Linked DNA regions of Homo sapiens: region 1 is linked to region 2. Evidence: promoter capture Hi-C in human tissues and cell types (Jung and others, 2019). All regions are on one chromosome and are shown on one strand. Each heading gives the region's core, a stretch centred on a gene start or on the middle of the fragment in contact. The rest is flanking DNA. Distances are from core to core; before and after follow the strand shown. Region 1 has its middle 30 kb from the start of MIR483. Region 2 holds the start of KRTAP5-1 (keratin associated protein 5-1).

Region 1 (5,886 bases), core at 2,218-4,717, 520 kb before region 2:
CCATTTATACACCCAGTCATTATCCATGTATTCATCTATCCATCCATCCTTTCTTCCATCCATCCATCCAAGCATCTATTCACTCACTCCTACATGTATCCATTTATCCATCCATCTATCCATCCATCCATGCATGCATCCACCCATTCATACACCCACTCATTCATCCATGTATTTATCTATCTATCCACCCATCCATGTATCCACCCCTCTATGCATCTATTCATCCATCCATTCACCCACTCATTCATACATCCACTCATTCACCCATGTATCTATCTATCTATCCATCCATCCATCCATGCATCCACCCATCTATGCATCTATTCATCCGTCCATTCACCCACCTATTCATACACCCACTTATTTATCCATATATCTATCTTCCATCCATCCATGCATCCACCCATCCATGCATCCACCCACCCATTCATCCATCCATCCATCCACCCACTCATTTGTTCATGTATCCATCCACCCATCCATCCTTCCTTCCATCCATGCATGCATCCATCCATCCATCCATGCACCCATCCATGCATCCATCCATCTTCCTTTCCTTCCTTCCTTCCTTCCTTCCTTCCTTCCTTACTTCCATGAATCCATGCATCCACTTATCCATCCATCCATCTGTTCATCCATCCATCTGTTCATCCACCCATCCATGCACCCATCCATGCACCCATCCATGCACCCATCTGTGCACCCATTCATCCTCCCTCCCTCCCTTCTTCTCTTCCTTCCTTCTTTCCTTCCTTCCTTCCTTCTTTCCTCTTGCCCTCCCTCCCTCTCTTCCTTCCTTCCTTCCTTCCTTCCATGGATCCATGCATCCACCCACGCATCCAGCCATCTACCCAGCCAACCATTTACCCATCTACATACCTTTCTAGCCCCCACCACATACTCACATGGACATCTGGGGGAGAGCATCTCATGGCAGGAGCAGCGGGTACAAGGCTTGTAGAGAGGTGATGTGGCGTCTCTGAGGAGTGGTGGATAGGGAGGAAGCATGGGTTGTTGAGAAACACACCTGAGAAACCAAGGGGAGCTTGCCCAGGAAGGCATCAGGAAGCCCTGAAGGGGATGCAGCTTTTTCTTGGAGAGAAGTGGGGCTAGTGGAGGTCTCTGCTTAGGAGTGAAGGGATCCTGTGGCTGCTGAGTGACCAGAGTGCAAGAGGAGAAGTGGAGGCACCTGCTGGGATACACACAGAAGGGAGTGACTGGGAGGGACTGGTGGAGGAGTGAGGGTGGTTGCACCCTGGTGTGTGCTGAGGGCAGAGTGAGAGCCTTTGCTGAGGGCCTAGAGGAGTGAAGAGCCCAGAAGGCCCCTGGGAAGGATGGCATCACCTGACAGAGAAGAGGAGAGGCAGAAAGGTACATTTGGAGTTTCAGGGCTAGGCGGTCATGTCCACAGAGGCCGGGGACATCCGTGAGAGGGGAATAATGGACAGACAGCACCTGCCAGGTCATGTTGCCAAGAGGCCCCTGGCCAGGAGCTCAGACCAGCCTGGGCAAGTGGTCAGGTCCTGGCTGCTGGCTGTGGCCTTCGTCCTGCTGGCCTCTCAGATGTCACAGGGAGCTCTCGGAGCCTCTTGAGCTGTCCCCCAATGGGCTGCTACCTGGCTCCGAGGCCTGGTCCCAGCCCCACAGCCCCAACTTGGTGTTCCTTCAGGGCAGAGACAGATGGGACAGGGGTCAGTGAGGGGAGGAGAGTTCTCAGGAGGCGGTGCTTGGGCTGGGCCTGGGGAGGGAAGCTCCAGGGTGCTCCTGGGGCAGCAGGGTGAACCAGCTCTGACGTTTTCTGTATTAAGGAGCATCTGAGAAGGGAGAGAACAAACGCTTCGCTTTTCCACATCAGGCACAACATGATCGGTCATCCGTTTTCATTCCGGGATCTGGAAAACAGCTGATTCTGGAAAGCTACAACTTCCCTAGGTGCAGAGCTCTGTGGAGAAGGGCTCCCGCAGGGCTGGGGGTGGGAGCTCAGGCCCCAGGCACTCCAGAGCTGGCTCAGGAAAGGGTAAGGCTCAGACTGGGCCTGGAGGGAAGAGCCCACCAAGGAGGAACCAGTCTCCACCCCCTGCCTCTGGCCAGGTTTCTATAGCACTGGTGACCAGGACACTCGAGCCTCTGGGACCTCAGTGGGCTAATCCGGGACTAATCCTAGCAACAGGCTGGGCCTGCAGCCACATGATGGCCGAGGGTTGCTGAGCATGCACCCATGACCCTTCCCAGGGGCCTGGCCACAGTGCCTGGTTTCCCTCTGTGCCCTGGCATTGAGTGGAGTTGGCTCCAGGAGCAAGGCCCCCTGGGCCTTTGGTCCCTTTCCTGGGCCCAGCTCTGGGCCACTGGGGTCCCCATGGCTGCCCTCACCTGGGGGTTGGCAGGATCAGCGGAAATTAACAGGTGAGGGAGGCCTCATGCATGAAGCACGGCTTCCTGCTGGGAGCGGTGGAAACCTGGGGATTTCGGGGCGGGCTCAGGGATCCTGATACACTCACTTGGGGCCCTGGGCTGGGGCAAGGCAACATGGTGAGTCTTCTGGGCCACTGGAACCGTGAGGAAGGACAAAGCTCTGGAGGCCTTGACCAAGGAGGCCTGCTGCGCGTGTGTGTATATGAATGTGTGTTTGCATGTGTGGGCGTGCGTGTGTATATGAATGTGTGTTTGCATGTGTGGGCATGTGTGTATATGAATGTGTGTTTGTGTGTGTGGGCGTGTGTGTATATGAATGTGTGTTTGCATGTGTGGGCATGTGTGTGTATGCATGTGTGTCTGTGCGTGCATGTGTGTACCCCTGTGTGTGTGTGTGCGCACTCCGGCACGGGAGGGGGTTGTGCCCCTGCCTCCGCGCCCCAGAAGCTCTGGTTCCATCTGTGTTCTTGCTTTTCATCAGTCAGCCATCATTTGTTAATTCATTCATTCACCCATCATTCATTCAGCAATGGTCAGGAGGAGCCAGGAAGCACCCTTGTCCGTGCTGACCCAGGCTGTGGGTCTGTTGTGTTGGCCTCAGCAGTGTCTGGGCATCAGCAGGTGAAAGGGTGCCTGAGTGTCAGTGTGGGAGCGGCCTCCACTGAGAACCACAGCTCCCCGGGAGTACCCTGAGCGGCAGCGCTCTGTTCCCTGCTCTGCCATCTCCTGGACCCATGCCCTTCCTAGCTGCTGGATCAGCCTCTGCCCAGGTTGGGCTGCAGGTGCTGGGTCCAGGCCTCCCCGGGGTGCCCCTCGTCAGGGGTTGCAGGCAGCCCCTGCGACCATGGCTGGAGCTGGGCTGACCCGGGCTCAAACTCCTGACTCTTGTGCCACTTACTGTGTGTCTGCGGGAAAGCCACTTAATGGAGACTCATCCTCAGTCTCCTTGTCTGGAACAGCGACAGTCCTGACTCCTTCAGGGTTTCGAAGGTGATGCTTGTGGAACACGCTACTGGCACCTGGCCATGGAGGGCGTGAGGGACGGCCACTGTCACTACCCAGATTTTCCCTGGGCCAGCAGTGTGGGAGCAGATGGGATTTGGAGTGGAGCACGCACAGGACGGCCCTCGTTCATTTTGAGTCCACACAGGCCTGTGTCCCCAGTTCCCGGCCCTGCCCCTGCTCTGTACTGCAGCACCCCTACCCTCAGAAGAGACCCCTTATTTCCATGTGGAAAGCGCTCTTTGGGCTCTAAGTGGCTTCCCAGGAGGGCAGAGCCCCTGGAGCCATCTCTGGGTTTCCAGGAAGCCCACTGGGAGGGTGGTGGATGGTGTCTCCAGGGCCGTGGAACACTCTGGCTACCCTTAGCACGAGAGGGGGAGATTCTCTGGTTTTCAGCTTGTCCTTCTGTTCCAGGGACAGCTCTGTGGGAGAGGCTCTCTCCTGCCAATGCAGGAGACAGAGCTGGAGCAGAGGAGAGCCCCTGCTTAGGCCTAAGAGCCCCAGCTTGGTCACTGAAACTGGGAGCCACGGTTGGGTTGGAAAGTCTGGTCCTCCGTGCCCTGGCAAGGGCAGACTTGGTTTTCCTTCCTACTCTACTCTTCCAGTCTCCTCCTCTGCCAGACTGGCCATGGTGGGTCAGAGAGAGGGGCAAGGAAAGGGAAGTGGGGGGACAGAGCAGGATGACCATAAGGAAGAGGACACAGGAGAGAGAAGGGGATGCAGGGCCTTCCAACTATGGACTTGAAGAAGAAAGACGAAAACAAGAAACCAAAGTCATGTCTTGGCCAACAAACCCCCAGCTCCTATCTCCCTACAGAAAGAAGCTTGGGGGAAACTGGCTCCAGGAGCCTTGGCTGCAGGGAAGGCAGCATTTCCACGACTGAGCCTTTTGCAAACTATGTGGGTCCTGCTCTTTTTGGCCCTCCTGCTCCAGCCCCCAGCTCCCTGCATCCAGCTCTGAGGGCCCCAGAGCCCCATCAGATGTGGAGGGAGCTTGGGTGGAGCAGGGTGGAGGTGCGGCAAAGATCAGGCCAGGCCTCATTGTTTAGAAAAGAAGGAACTGACTTCAGCTCCGGGAGCAGGGCCTCCCACCCCACCCGGACTTCCTGCTCCCTGGGCCTGCCAGTGCGGACTTTGTCCACCTTATTTGGGGATTGAGAAGCCACACTGCTCTATGGCCCTGGGGGTCATGGCAGAGAACCAGAGACTCACAGAGTGGAGGGTGCCTGGCAATCATTCTCCATGATTCAAGGTTACAACACCTTAGCCAAAGAAAGTGCTATTTGAGGATCCATTCATTCCTCCATCCAACTGTTCATCCACCCTTCCATCTACCCACCTGCTCTTCATTCATCCACCTACTTATTCATACGTCTACATTCATCCTCATGTCTCCACATCCCCCACTCACCCATCCATTCATCCTTTCCTCTACCCACTCATCCTTTCATCCGTCCATCCATCCATCCATCCTAATCATCCATCCATCTCAACCATCCATTCATCCATTCACACACCACCTTCCCATCCACTCATCCACCCATCCATCCCACACATCCTTCCACTCACCTACATATTCACTCATCCATCCATCCATCCATTCCAACCTCCATCCATTCACCCACCTACCCATCCATCGATCATCCATCCATCCATCCATTTATCCATCCATCCATCCATCCATCCATCCGCTCACCCATCCATCCATCAATTCACCCACCCATCTATCCACCCACCTATCTACCACCCTTTCCACCACAATTCTATATCATCCAGGTTTGATAATTGGAAGCCCATTGCTAAGAAAACTTCTTGAACAAGTTCTTTGGCTAAGAAACAAGAGGCTGCCTCAATTTACCCACTGCATCTGTGTCTTATGGATTTGAAGTCATCATAAGTCACATCTAAGACCAGGACCAGGACCTGAGACTGTCCTTTCAGGACCTTTTATTTTCCACAATGACAGTGACAGACACACACAGGGAGCACTAAGGCTGGGGTCCCAGTGGACGTCAGTGTGGGGAAGAGTCTCTCCTGGCTCTGTGTGGCCTTTGAAAGACACCTCATTCCTTTGGTCTAGGCTTCTCTGTAAAATGGGCTGCCAAGATGGTTGTGCGGGTCGATGGAGAGAAGTAATCTGCCTGTCTTTGAATCATTGCCTCCAGGTGAAGGTCTCCCCTCTTTCTAACTCTAATCTAAAAACCCATGAGGTTGAAATCCTCAAGCCCCAAGCGACACCTGTGAAACGGCCCAAGAGAAGCGTGCCATGAGGCAGCAGGAAGGGCATTCCAGGAGGAGGGAACAGAGGTGAGAGAGACGCCCTGACATTTGGGGACCCAGCAGGGAGTTTGGCCTGGCTGTCACTGGAATGGCAGCACAGGTGGCTGGAGAGGAAAGAGGGGCCAGGCTGAAGGATCAGATGCCCCTGGGAACACACAGGAGCTGTGGGGTGGGCCAGGTGGGGTTCCT
Region 2 (6,213 bases), core at 1,097-3,596:
CTAAAAATACAAAAATTAGCTGGGTGTGGTGGCACGTGCCTGTAATCCCAGGGGAGACTGAAGCAGGAGAATTGCTCAAACCAGGGAGTCAGAGGCTGCAGTGAGCCGAGACCATGCCACTGCACTCCAGCCTGGCAACAGAGCAAGACTCCATCTCAAAATAAAAGAATCCAGAAAATTCAAAGAACTTCAGACACCAATAAAAATAATAATGATCTTGGCCAGGTGTGGTGGCTCACACCTGTAATCCCAGCACTCTGGGAGGCCGAGGTGGGTGGATCACTTGAGGTCAGGAGTTCAAGACCAGCCTGACCAACATGGTGAAACCTTGACTCTACTAAAAATACAAAAATTAGCCAGGTGTGGTAGCACATGCCCGTAATCCCAGATACTCGGGAGGCTGAGGCAGGAGAATTGCTCGAGCATGGAAAGCGGAGGTTGCAGTGAGCCGAAATCGCACCATTGCGCTACAGCCTGGGAGACAGAGCAAGACTCTCCATCTCAAAAATTAATAATAATAACTATCTCAATTTTGTAAAGTGGGCCAAGGACGTGAAATTAACGAGACTCTAATGACAGGTGACCATATGGAAAGAGGCACAGCATGGCTAGTAACCAGGAAGAGGGAATATTAAACCACAGTGTGTAACACTGTGTTACACACCCACATGAAGGGTGTAAGTTGACAGTTGCAAGTTTTGGTGGGGGTGCCAGGAAACAGGAGCTCTCTGGCAATGCTGGTTGGACAGCAGCTGGCTGGGGGGATCCCTTGGGAAGACAGCTTGGTAACAAGAACCTCCTGACTTTCAGGCACCCACACCTGCAGGAGGGGTTTTGGGCAAGAAAGTTGCAGCTTGCTTGAAATAGCAACAAAAAGGAAACAAAAGGTCCATCAACAAGTAAATGGATAAGTCAATGTATATTTAGAAATCAGAGAAAACAAATAAATTAAAACCATATGTATCCCTAGAGAAAATCTCTTTAGCCTAACACCTATTTTTTTCAAAAGCAATTTACAGAAAGAGAAATACAGTGTAATACCCATTACATAAAGTTTTCAGCATGTAAAATTTTTTTTTCTTTTTTCTTTTCTTTTTTTTTTTTTTTTTTTGAGATAGAGTCTCACTCTGTTGCCCAGGCTGGAGTGCAATGGCGTGATTTCAGCTCACTGCAACCACTGCCTCCCAGGTTCAAGCGATTCTCCTGCCTCAGCCTCCCGAATAGCTGGGATTACAGGCACATGCCACCATACCTGGTTAATTTTTGTATTTTTAGTAAAGACGAGGTTTCACCATGTTAGTGAGGCTGGTCTCAAACTCCTGGACTCAAATGATCCGCCCACCTCAGCCTCCCAAAGTGCTGAAATTACAGGTGTGAGCCACCGCGCCTGGCCACAAAACATTTTTAAAGGAACATACATATTAAGTAGGAGTGTGAGGACCTTCATGAGAGTGGTGAATTCCAAATTCAAGAAATTATTAGGGTGGGACAGAAACAATATGGAGAGATGGAGGAACAGAGACTTCATTTATTTATGCCATTTTTTCCCAAGTTGAGTAGGGTTTTTTTTTACATTTTTTAAATATATTACTCTTTATACCATCGTTCAACTAAAATAGATCACTTTTTTTTTTTTTTTGAGACAGAGTCCCGCTCTGTTGCCCACACTAGAGTGCAGTGGTGTGATCTCTGCTCACTGCAACCTTCACCTCTGGGTTCAAGCCATTCTCCTGCCTCAGCCTCCCAAGTAGCTGGAGTTACAAGCATGCACCACCATGCCTGGCTAATTTTTGTATTTTTAGTAGAGATGGGGTTTTGCCATGTTGGGCAGGCTGGTCTCCAACTCCTGACCTCAAATGATCCACCTGCCTCGGCCTCCCAAAGTGCTGGGATTACAGATGTGAGCCACCACACCCAGTTAATTTTTGTGTTTTTAGTAGACACGAGATTTCACCATTTTGGCCAGGCTGGTCTCCAACCCCTCACCTCAAGTGATCCACCTGCCTAGGCCTCCCAAAGTGCTGAGATTACAGGTGTGAGCCACCATGCCCAGCCTAAAATAGATGCTTTTGTAAATCCAGTGTGACTCTGGAGTCAACAGGGAGAGGCTAGACCCTTGGGGGCCTCCATTAAGTCTGGACACAGATTCAGCAAGAGAGCAGCAGCCCACTGAGCAGCCCATACACCAAGGGGCGGATTTCTAGAGGAAACAAGAAAAAGGGGCCCTAAAAATGGCACAAACAGGAACCAGGAAATGTGTGCCCAGCCTCACACATGACCCTGGGCAGGGATATAAAGGGTCCAGGCTCAGGGAGCTCCACACCTGCACCTCCCTCTCACCTGCTCCTCTACCTGCTCCACCCTCAATCCACCAGAACCATGGGCTGTTGCGGCTGCTCCGGAGGCTGTGGCTCCAGCTGTGGGGGCTGTGGCTCCGGCTGTGGGGGCTGTGGCTCCGGCTGTGGGGGCTGTGGCTCTGGCTGTGGAGGTTCTGGCTCCAGCTGCTGTGTGCCCGTCTGCTGCTGCAAGCCCGTGTGCTGCCGTGTGCCAACCTGTTCCTGCTCCAGCTGTGGCAAAGGGGGCTGTGGCTCTTCTGGGGGCTCCAAGGGGGGCTGTGGCTCCTGTGGAGGCTGCAAGGGGGGCTGTGGCTCTTGTGGGGGATCCAAGGGGGGTTGTGGCTCCTGTGGGGGCTCCAAGGGGGGCTGTGGCTCTTGTGGGGGATCCAAGGGTGGCTGTGGTTCCGGCTGTGGGGGATGTGGCTCCAGCTGCTGTGTGCCTGTCTGCTGCTGCAAGCCCATGTGCTGCTGTGTGCCAGCTTGTTCCTGCTCCAGCTGTGGCAAAGGGGGCTGTGGCTCCTGTGGGTGCTCCAAGGGGGCCTGTGGTTCTTGTGGGGGCTCCAAGGGGGGCTGTGGCTCCTGTGGAGGCTGCAAGGGGGGCTGCGGTTCTTGTGGGGGATCCAAGGGGGGTTGTGGCTCCGGCTGTGGGGGCTGTGGCTCCGGCTGCGGTGTGCCCGTGTGTTGCTGTTCCTGTTCCAGTTGTGGCTCTTGCGCGGGGTCTAAGGGAGGCTGCGGGTCATCCTGCTCCCAGTGCAGTTGCTGTAAGCCCTGCTGCTGTTCCTCAGGCTGTGGGTCATCCTGTTGCCAATCCAGCTGCTGCAAGCCCTGCTGCTCCCAGTCCAGTTGCTGTGTCCCCGTGTGCTGCCAGTGCAAGATCTGATTTCTGGCTTTGCAGGACTCTTACCATGGCCAGGCATTCCTGCCCAGCCTTTACCTCCTTTTCCTGGCACCCAGTGAGCCAGACTCTCCTTCCCCACCCACTACCCTATCTCCCACCCTCCTGCCTTGCCAAGCATGAACACTTCTCTTTGACCTTCTACCAAGAAATGCCATGGGCCCATGCATCCAAGAAGAATGACTTTCAAGGCCTCCCTTCCAGGCATCTGGAGACCAGCCCCCCACCGCCCCAGCCACCTGCAGCAAATGCCTATCCGCAAGCCCTGCCTGCTGGCACCACATCCAGCACGGACAGCCCTGCAGGACAGCCCAGGGTGCTTGCTCACTCTGCAGTCACTAGGAGTTCAGATCTCTGTCCTTTAAACATCCAATAAACCGCTCACCCCAGCACCCCATAGCTGTCTTGGTATATTTATGTTTATTTCCCTCTCGAGGCAGGTGGGGGGCATCTGTGGCTACACTGGGTCCCCTGGGAACCACACACACACACACACACACACACACACACACACACACCGGCCCTGAACCAAACCGGAGCAGGCAGGTGGGCGCCCTGGCCAGCAGGGATCCTGGATACATGGTGGCGGTCAGAGGCAGGAGCACCAGCAGCCACCTGGCTCAGCCCCTTGCCGTGCAGCCTCTACCACACCCTCTCAGCATCTGGCTCAGGGCGGGGGTGCCTTGCCTTGATCAGGCAAAAGCAATCACTAGGGGGTCATCATGGCCTGTTACCACGCGGTCTTATTCTCTTTGGGCTGATGTAACAGAACACCATGGACTGGCATGTACAACAGAAGTGTATTTCTCAGGGTTCTGGAAGCTGGCAGTCTGAATTAAAGATGCCGGCGGCCAGGTGCGGTGGCTCATGCCTGTAATCCCAGCACTTTGGGAGGCCGAGGGGGGCGGATCACCAGGTCAGGAGATTGAGACCATCCTGGCTAACACGGTGAAACCCCCCTCTCTACTAAAAATACAAAAATTTAGCCGGGCATGGTGGCAGGCGCCTGTAGTCCCAGCTACTCAGGAGACTGAGGCAGGAGAATGGTGTGAACCCGGGAGGCGGAGGCTGCAGTGAGCCGAGATCGCGCCACTGCACTCCAGCCTGGGCTACAGAGCAAGATTCCGTCTCAAAAAAAACAAAAAACAAACAAAAAAAGCCAGAAGAATGCAAATATGACATTCCAGAGGGGATGTATATGGAAGGTCAGCAATCCCATTGCAGCAACCAGAGAAGGCCACATTAATTACAGAACTCAGATGGTAAAATAAATAAATAAATAAATAAATAAATAAATAAATAAATAACTTCAGGAAATCCTACCGTATGTATCTTACCACAATTTTTTTTTTCTGAGATGGAGTCTCACTCTGTTGCCCAGGCTGGAGTGCAGTAGTGTGATCTCCACTCACTGCAACCTCTGCCTCCTGGGTTCAAGCTATTCTCCTGCCTCAGCCTCCTGAGTTTCTGGGACTACAGGCATGAGCCACCATGCCCAGCTAATTTTGTTTTGTTTGTATTTTTAGTAGAGATGGGGTTTCACCATGTTGGCCAGGCTGGTCTCAAACTCCTGACCTCAAGTGATCTACCTGCCTCACCCTCCCAAAGTGCTGGGATTATAGGCGTCAGCCACTGCATCCGGCCCACAATTTTGAAATACCGGAAAAATGTATCTATAAAAAAGACATTGGAGAACTGTAGAAGCAACAAGAACCAGATGAAAACATTCAGAGAGAGCCCTTCCAAGATGAGCTGAATGTCGGCTTCTCTCCCTTTAAGGAATTAACCAGTGCTGGGTATGAGCTGAGCCTCGGTCCCACTGGGGAAGAGGAATTCTACTGGGAGAAATACCCAGCAGGGCTCTTGGCAACCACAGGGGCTGGAGCAGAAAACTGGGACATTTGCAAATTTCTGGGGAGGCTAAGAAGTGAGGCCTGAGGCCTCCGCAGGTGCGCTGAAGTCTCGCATAGCCTTGTGGAGCTTAGTACACAGAGCTTTTCTAGAGGAAGGGGTCCTGCCCCAGGCACAGGTTAATCTGGCCCTTAAGACATTTTCCAAATTTTGAAGCTGCCTGAGCAGACAACTAAAGAGCTAAGCCTGTACCTCAGGGAAAGAAGTGACTCTCTGACAGCCTGTCAGGGATAAGAAGACACGGACTGGCCAGGCTCTTAACCAAAACTCCAGGAAAGCCACACAGAGGGACGATTGACTGAAGTGGCCCAATCCCTAACTGAGCGGGTAGACGAAATGTTCAGCTCCTCTCCCTGTCTGCACTAGAGAGGGAGGCCACGTGCTCACTGTTGGAAGAGAGCAGCTAGACCCCCACAGTCCTTAGATGGAGACCCCCACGGTCCCGAGATATAGACCTCCACGGTCCTTAGATACAGACCCCCATGGTCCTGAGATATGGAGCCCCACGGTCCTGAGATATAGACCCCCACGGTCCCGAGATACAGACCGCCACAGTCCTTAGATATAGACTCCCACAGTCCCTAGATATAGACCCCCACGGTCCCTAGACACAGATCCCTACGGTCCCTAGATACAGACCCCCACGGTCCTGAGATACAGAACCCCACGGTCCCGACATATGGTCCTTAGATATGGACCCCCACGGTCCCGAGATATAGACCCCCCACGGTCCCGACATATGGACCCCCATGGTCCCTAGATATGGACGCCACGGTCCTTAGATATAGACTCCCACAGTCCCTAGATATAGACTCCCACGGTCCCGAGATACAGACCCCCACGGTCCTGAGATACAGATCCCCACGGTCCTGAGATATGGACCCCCACGGTCCCTAGATATAGACCCCACGGTCCTTAGATATAGACTCCCACAGTCCCTAGATACAGATCCGCACGGTCCCTAGATACAGATCCCCACGGTCCCTAGATACAGACCCCCACGGTCCTGAGATACAGAACCCCACGGTCCTTAGATATAGACCCCCACGGTCCTGACATATAGACCCCCCA

What was found. The method cuts DNA at HindIII sites, captures the fragments that hold promoters and counts their contacts. A contact is called where the count stands out against the background at its distance.
Region 1: a fragment that was not itself captured here is called in contact with the fragment with the promoter of KRTAP5-1 in region 2 in 2 of the 25 tissues and cell types used here (dorsolateral prefrontal cortex and lymphoblastoid cells).

Annotation. Positions count from the first base shown.
Region 1 is chr11:2,101,401-2,107,286 of GRCh38, reverse strand. No RefSeq gene overlaps it. Among named protein-coding and RNA genes, the nearest start is that of MIR483, 30 kb to the left of the region's middle. The HindIII fragment of the contact is 7,700 bases long and covers 1-5,886 here.
Region 2 is chr11:1,581,416-1,587,628 of GRCh38, reverse strand. KRTAP5-1 (keratin associated protein 5-1) reads left to right here and starts at 2,346. Exons shown (of 1, transcript NM_001005922.1): 1 at 2,346-3,287. The coding sequence starts at 2,380. The coding sequence ends at 3,216. All of the region lies in intron 1 of KRTAP5-AS1 (KRTAP5-1/KRTAP5-2 antisense RNA 1), which reads right to left. The HindIII fragment of the contact is 15,838 bases long and covers 1-6,213 here.